Regions from separate parts of the Homo sapiens genome. Here region 2 is linked to region 1. The links are contacts of gene promoters, found by promoter capture Hi-C in blood cells and fetal thymus (Javierre and others, 2016). All regions are on one chromosome and are shown on one strand. Each heading gives the region's core, a stretch centred on a gene start or on the middle of the fragment in contact. The rest is flanking DNA. Distances are from core to core; before and after follow the strand shown. Region 1 holds the start of SLC25A36 (solute carrier family 25 member 36). Region 2 overlaps DIPK2A (divergent protein kinase domain 2A).

Region 1 (4,052 bases), core at 1,093-3,592:
CTCTGTGAAAGGTTACTCTTGGTTCTTTTAAAATATACTGGGCTTCCTTTAAAAAGATAAGGTGTGTTTTACTGAACTCACTTATGTAACCACATATAAAAATAAAATCAAGATGAGATGCAAAGGAAGAGAAATTATACGGCTGAGCACCTATCTTGTATCAAATCCTACATACCATATCTCATTTAATACTCTAACTACATATGCTAGACTGGGGGGGAGGGGATGGAGCTCCTAATCTGTGTGTTTAGATGCTACAAACACCTCCCATTCCTGTTCTTAAACCAGAAAACCTATATTTACATGTTTTTATAACAAAATGATGATCCTAATCCAAAGTGGGAAATTAGTGCAATCAAGCTAACATTTATTTCAAATATAAGTATGCCCCATTTTTAACTAAACTTGATACATGAATCCTGAACGCAGAATAATAGAAATGTTAGGAGCTAGAGAAGGGCTTTAGAGATCATATAATACAACCTCCTAATTTTATAGATGAAGCAATTGAAATAAAAGTGTCCATTTTTCACCCAAATTAAAATAGTGCTAGACTACATCTGCGGTCTCCTCACTTCAGGGTTATAGATCTAATTACAAGAGGGAGCTCAATTATTTGCATGAGATCTTTTCAAGAGCATCTACATAGCTACAGAATTTTTTTAAAAAGATTTAATTTGCCTGATTATTGGCAGTAAACATTTCAGAAATATGGAAAGCAAACTGCCTAAACTGGGTCTCACAGATCAATAGAAAAATATTGTTTTTATGCCAGAACAGTGGCCGGCCCATAATTGGTGTACAACAAATATTTGTTGATGAAAGTGTGCCAACCTAAAGAAAGTATTGCCATCACTGGCTCAATAGAGTCCATATGTCCAACTCAAAGCAAGGCACCGTGAATAGAACTGCGTGTGTATTTCTTTCATATTCTTAAAAGTCGATCTAAAAACTGCAGGATTTAAGAAGATGCCGGTAAGAGTCTCAGCATAATTCACCGAAGGCATTTTTGATAAGAAAACTCTTTATAATCCTCCAAATAAGTAACTCTTAAAATTGCTATGATTCTCCAAATGATTTAGAAGGAGCAAATCTAAACAGGAGGCTAAACTGGAAGCTCTAACACTCATTTTGGCAATCAGGGAACTAAGACTTTAGGCTTAGTCCTAATCTTGCACACACATAGTAACTATTAACACTATCTTCAAAAAATCTGACCTCTCTCCACTCCTACTTTCTCCTAAGCAGCAGAAAAGCAAGCGGTGTTCAAGAGGGGTGGTTTTCTCGAAAGGAATCTGACCCCAAAGGTACTGGAAAGCTTTGCACCCCATTCACCACCTGGAAAACCTCGGGCAAGAAATTTTCCAAGGGCTAGAAACACCCTACAGCAACCACGGGAGAATACCAAAGCCTTCCCCGCTCGATCCCGTAGCCCCCTTACCACCCACCTTGCAAAGCCGAGCCCGGAAATGAGCGGCCCGAGGTCCGAGGTGGGGCGTGAGTGACGTGCAGAGGCCCAAGCGAGCGCTGCAAGGAGCGAGGGCTAAAGGAGTCTCCGGCGCCCATTTTGTCCTCAGCCTCCGCACTTTCCGCCCCGTCCCCTTGGGCCATGCAACCTACGCGAAATCCGAAGCCAGGCTCCTCAAAGCGGCCCTGGATCCCCGACGCCTGCTAGATTGCGGCGTGCGGCCAGGTCCAGCGGCGTCCGGGTAATCAAGCGCCGACCCCAGCTCTTGCCCGCGTCTCCTCAGACGCATGGATTCGGCCTCCGCCTCACCCCGGCCCCGCGGGCCCAAAACCTCACTCCCGGCCCGGGTTTCATGCCTCAACCCTCTTTGCCCGGGCCTCACTCTCTCGCCCTCGGGCCCGGGCCTCACCCCCTTGCTTCCCCGAACCGGAGCCCCCCTCACCACCCACGGGCTGGGTCGCTCCCCTCACCCGCAGGCCCGTGGCAGCTCCCCGCCCAGGCCTCACTCCCGCCCCCCCACCCCCCCACCCCCCTCGGCCCCCCTCGCCCCCCTCGCCTGCGTCTTCGGCCCCAGCACCCTCAGCCCCAGTGCGCACGCCCCGCCAGGACCTTACCCTCCGGCAAACAGATGCACCAGCGTGTCCCTCTGGCTCATTCTCTCTCCCGCATGTCCTCCGGCCGCTGAGGCGGGACGCGGATCTGGCCGCCCGCTACGGCAGGCGGCTTCGGTCCCGGACTGGAGACGCACAGCGCCCCGGGGACGGCGAGGAGAGCTGGCCGAGATGCGGCTGCAGAAAGCAACCGGCACAGCCCTCCCCGCGGCACTCCAGCCGCGCCACCGCCTGCCTAAGCGCGCCGCCCTTCACCAGAGGCTGAAAGCGACGCAGCGCAGCGCGACGGAGAGTGGGCGGGGGATGGTAGGGGGAAGATGACTATTTGATGGCTCCCGACATAAACAGAGGCTCCCATTGGTGTGAGCGTCGTGACGTCACGCACTCTGCAGTGTTCTTTCACGTGATCCCTACGGGCTCTTTCAATGAAAGGGGCCGCGAGGCGTGGCCAGAACGCGTGCCCGGAGGGTGGTAGGTCACCGCGCTCCTAGCACCTGAGACCTGGGGCGCCCCTGGCCTGAGTGAACGCGCCAATCACGGCTGCACTCTCCTGAACAGGGAACTGGCGGGGCGGGAAAAATCGACTTGGTTCCGGGTTCGCAAGCGGATTTACTTTGAAAAAATTGGATTTATGACCCAGCAGTTCCCTTGGTGTCTATCTCAGAGTAACCCTCGCACAATGCATAAAAAGGTTTGTGCACGGATACTCCTATATAGGCTCACAAACAGTACAGAATTATGAACAATGCTTGCAGTTGCAGAAAATTGAAATCAGTGGGGGAATGAAGAAATAAATCATGAAACATTCCTACTATGGAATATTATGCAATCGTGACAAGGGATGAGGTGATTCCATATGGCAAAAAATCTCCCGAAGTGTGTAATAAGTAAAAAAGGCAAGTAGAATTAAAATACTTGGGTTTGTTTTTAAAAGAATAAAAGTTCATGGGAAATGGAATTAAAAGATAAAATTTAAAAATATAAACTTTGTTTTTCAACGTAAGCTCCATCAAGTTAAAGACAGTTTGGTAAGTGATGATACCGGCTCTTTAGTCCATCTGTAAAGAATTGAGGGTTCTGGGAATTTAATCATGAAAATGCAGGCTTTTTTACGTTATTAACTGAAGAAAAATGGGTGCCATTTACAGATTTTTCACGATTAGAAAACAAAAATATGTCAGAAGGAGCCAGGTCAGGAATGTAAGATGGATACCTGATAGTTTCCCATCGAAATCCCTGGAAAAATGCCCTTATTTAAAGAGAGGAATGAGCAGGAACATTGTCCTGATGGAGAAGGACTCTCTGGTGAAGATTTCGTAGGTGTTTTTATGCTAAAGCTTTGCTTCACTTTCTCCTATAGTAAGCGGATGTTATTGCTCTTCCACCCTCCAGAAAGTCAACAGGCAAAATACCTTGAGCATCCCAAAAAGCTGCTGCTATGACTTCGGCTCTTGACCAGTCTACTTTTGATTTGACTGGACCACTTGCACCTCTTGGTAACTATTGCTTTGATCCAGAATCATACTGAGAAAGCTATGTTTGATCTCCTGTTACAATTCTTCAAAGAAATGTTTCAATATATGATCCCACTTGTTTACAATTTCCATTGAAAGCCCTGCTCTTGTCTGCAGCTCATCTGGGTGCAACAGTTTTGCACCCATCGGGTGAAAAGTTTGCTCAACTTCAGTTTTTCAGTGAGAAATGTGTAAGTAGAACCAGTTGAAATGTCTATGGTGTTGTATATTATTTGTGCTGTTAATTGTGGGTCCTCTTCAATTAGGGCACACCGAAGAATAATCTTTTCCTCAAAAATCGATGTGGATTGTCTGCCACTGCAGGCTTCCTCTTCAACATTGTCTCATCCCTTCTGCAAACAAGTTATCCATTTGTAAACTTCAGATTTCTTTGGGGGAATTTTCCCCATCAAACTTTTGTAAAGCATCCTTGATTTCACCATTCTTCCACCCAATCTT
Region 2 (4,052 bases), core at 930-3,429, 3.0 Mb before region 1:
TACTGTGTCCCAGGGGTATATACAGATCAGTTCCTGGCACTATTGACCAATTCCACATAATTACTGTCAGATCTTTTCATTTCAGAGTTAACCCCCAAAAAAGCATTAGAAAGAAAAAATACGAAGACACTGAAGCATCATACTTACTTCAGATTACAAATCTTTTAAGATTCTGTCTCAGAGTCTAAGGTCTAGACTTAACCTGTTTTTTTGTACTACCATTTACCAATGTACTAAATAGAATTACTAAACTATAATAATGATTTACAGAGAAAAAAAGAAACTATTTGCCTTTTACTTCTTAATCCTTATCTAAACCGTCTTTCCTACCATATTCATTCTATTCATTACACTTCATATGAGACAAATCCCTAATCCCCTTTTAAACTACTATTTTTAAAAAACTATAGCCTGAATAGGTACATATGATTTACGTATATGTAAGGACAGTGACATTTGAATGTCTGCAATAAGAAAAGTAGGATTTTTACATTTCTAAGACAGACATCAGCATAATGTACTAAAGAACTTTTAACTACTATAGCTGTCTAAAAATGGAATAAGCTGATTTTCAAAGAAATAATACACTGTAAAAAGCTTTACAACTGAAAACATTTAACAGATATTACTTGAATAATCCTTTCTTCTTTAATCTTTAAAACAATCCTGTTAGGTAAGTATTAACAACCCCATTTTACTGATTAAAAAAACTTAGAATCGGAAACATTAAGTGACTTGCTCAATACCATCCAACAACTTTGTGGTAATACAGAATGTGAAATGGATGCTCTATCAATACTGCCCCCTCCACCCTTCCTCCCACTCTCCACCCCCATCTATTGGCAAAATCTCTGAAACTTTCCCTGGTACCATTCCTATCAATATACAATGAGATGTCCCTCCCTGAGTCATGTGACAGTATATATATATATATATATAGATATATATATATCTATATATAGATATATATATATATATATAGATATATATATATATATAGATATAGATATATATATATAGATAGATAGATAGATATAGATACCTTTTGTACAGGGCTTATTAAATGGATTGTATAATAATTAGTTATTTGTGTACCTACCTCCTACATAGTAAGCTACTTGTTTCCTACGGCCATCTTTCCATCCTTTCAATCCAAATGCCTTGTAACAGATTGTAAAATGAACAGACAAATTCAGTTCTTTTGGTTATAAATTCAAAGAGCTCTCAAGAATTTCACAGACAACTTCCTATCACCTTATACTAACCTCACCTTACACTAATAATTTTCAGTCATGTTACAACCATTTACTAAAGTTCATCAAATGTATTAGAAAAATGCAGGATTTAAATTATAAGGCCATAATTTAACATATGGGTAATGAGTGAAAGCTGAAGAAAGAAAAAAATAGCATTCTGTGAAGAGTCAGCAGCAATGACAGAAAAATAGGAAGTAAGCCAGAGCCCACAAACCAAAAAAACAGAATAAAAACCAGTCTGACAATCCCCTGAGAAGCTGGACACCCATGTCCAGAAGACCTATAAAAACAAGCTTTCTATTTCCCAACATGTGTGAGAATATGTGCTAACCTATGCAATGGAAATATAAAGAATAGTTCAAAGACTAGACAAAAGTATACAAAGGACAAAATTCAAAATGGTCAAAAGATATGGATATGTCCAGAAACTAGTCCAGGATGTCAAATGACTTTGCTCTACTGATTCTGAAGTGATGCTTTCTTAAGGGCGATTGTCTGTTTCTAGGGTCTTTCTAAAATAAAAGTCCCCACCCCCTTTTTGGACTTGAGGTATCCAAAATTGTTTTATTATTTTTGTTTGATTATCTTGAAGAGCAATCAAAAGTGTCAATGGACTCTCAGATGAAAAGCCACAAAAAGTTCAAAAACTTACAAAATTTATTAGATTAAAAACTGCTCTACTAAGAACCATCTCTAATGTGTTCTGAAGCCGAAATCTAGGAAGACAGTTACTAAAGAAACAGCCAGTAAAGGAGAAGTAGGTGGTTCCTTAAACTGTTGTTTGAAAAGAAACTCCTGAAACAAAGTCTGGAACATCGTTTTGCACACTATTGCCTCACAAGATCCTTGGCTACCCTTAACTCCACATATTTCCCCTTAAAGGAAGGTTTTGGTTTTTGTTTTATTTCATGTGTGTAAAAATTTGGGGGTAGGAAGAAAGGCTTGAAAGAGAGCATCCCACTCCCAATCCCCTTTCAGAAGAGCTTAATTAAACCCACTCGTTAAAGTTCAAAAGAAAACAACAACAACAACAACAACAATAAAAACCAAATTTCTCAAGAGTTTGAAAGCCCCAGAATGTTGGAGCTGAAAAGGATCTAATCCAATAGCTTCATTTTATAAAGAAGGAAGTGAGTCCAATAGTAAAAATCTATCAACTTTTCTAAAGTACCGTTAGCTAAATAATCTTTTGTTTACTTCAAAAACTACATTTTCACCAGTGAACTTAAAAAATATGTTGTTCCCTATATAAATTACTTTTAAAGGCAAAAACAACATTCACTGAAAGTTTTCTACAAAAAATTATATCAAAGTAATAATGGAAAAAAATCAGTATAACTAAAGTATGGTTGATATTCAAAATCACCATTATTTTTAAGGTGATCCATACCCCAAATGAGCTTCAAAACAGCTGATCAAATGCACCAGGCAGTTAAAGTTACCTTTACTTTATTCAATATCTAACATTTATTGAATGCTTACAATTTACCAGATACTACGTGAAGTGCTTTGCATGTATTATATCATTTATAAGAATAGAAAAGCAAGCTTAAAAACCATAGCTTAATGATAGTCATATACTATAAAAATAAAGTAAATCCTATTAAAACCATGATTCAGAAAATTTAAGGCAAATGAAGTTCCACAAATAGTAACATTCCCAGCTCGTCCCCCTAAACAACAAAGAGCTTTCTCCATTTCCTACAAACAAGACCATCTTCACTACTTCCAGGTTATAAAGTCAGAGATTCTGTCTGAACTTCAACAAATCCAGACAGCATCTCTCTCTCTCTCTCTCTCTCTCTCTCTCACACACACACACACACACACACACTCTCCCTTTCTGTAAATTCAATAGGTTAAATACAAATACGATGGAAAATTTATCAACAATAACTTGTGATCTTGCCAATTACTTCAACAACTCAATTTTTGAATACTTCAAGATTCCTATTTACACAATATAAAAGTCAACATAGTTCCTCTCCTCCATTTTTTTTTTCATAGGATTACAGTATACCTGGCACTAAAATACACACATCTTAGTGAAGTAAAAATGTGACGACGAGGAAAGGGTATCAGAGTAGAAGATAAAGGTACTACTAGCATTATCTTGTTGCTTGATGTTTATAAACATTTTTTAGAAGATAATAATTCTATGGGTAAACTGTTGTAAACTAGTGAAACTATCCAACAATAAGAAGAAAGCCATACTCTCATGCCATTTCATATGGGGAAATTTATATCACAAATCTTTACAGCCTTACATAGATAAGGTATGTGTGTAAACATCTTAGACACTTAATGTCTTTCACCTCTCCTTTCAAGGAATAATAGCAACTTCAATTTTTTACTGTTTTTTCAAATCAGAAGAGGTGAGTTTAATGGATTAAATTCGTAAGTATTTTTCAGTTCTTAAACACCTTATCAAAAGAAATTTTTACATGCTTATTTTGAAGCATGCTTACGATACTGGAAGTTTTGTTAAGAATACTTGGATGAAGTCAGTTCAAAGACTTTTTTTTCCCTGAAGTTGTTAATTTTTGGACAATATAAGAAAAATCTAGTTTGTCACCAGCTGTCCAAAAATTCGACAAGTAGCTCCCTCTCCTGGAGGAAAAAAGTGAGTTCCTCTTCAAGCTGTTAAAACACTTGTACTCTTAAAAATATATTTTTTAATACATGAAGCAATAGACAGCCAAATCTGAGTTTTTCTGTATCAATTAATATCCCAGTATTACTGTAAACAGCTATAAACAGTTTTATAAAAACCTGTATAAATACTAAAAATGTAGT

Evidence for each region. Contacts are between HindIII fragments. The CHiCAGO score rates a contact against its expected background, and 5 or more counts as called.
Region 2: a fragment that was not itself captured here is called in contact with the fragment with the promoter of SLC25A36 in region 1 in 1 of 17 cell types (activated CD4 T cells); the score reaches 5.4 in activated CD4 T cells.

What each region holds. Positions count from the first base shown.
Region 1 is chr3:140,940,126-140,944,177 of GRCh38, reverse strand. SLC25A36 (solute carrier family 25 member 36) reads right to left here and starts at 2,342. Exons shown (of 7, transcript NM_001104647.3): 1 at 2,083-2,342. The coding sequence starts at 2,123. RefSeq lists enhancers at 1,189-1,418, 1,058-1,905, 1,999-2,368. The HindIII fragment of the contact is 2,098 bases long and covers 1,321-3,418 here.
Region 2 is chr3:143,975,570-143,979,621 of GRCh38, reverse strand. The region is part of intron 1 of DIPK2A (divergent protein kinase domain 2A); the gene reads right to left. Among named protein-coding and RNA genes, the nearest start is that of DIPK2A, 5.8 kb to the right of the region's middle. The HindIII fragment of the contact is 1,255 bases long and covers 1,552-2,806 here.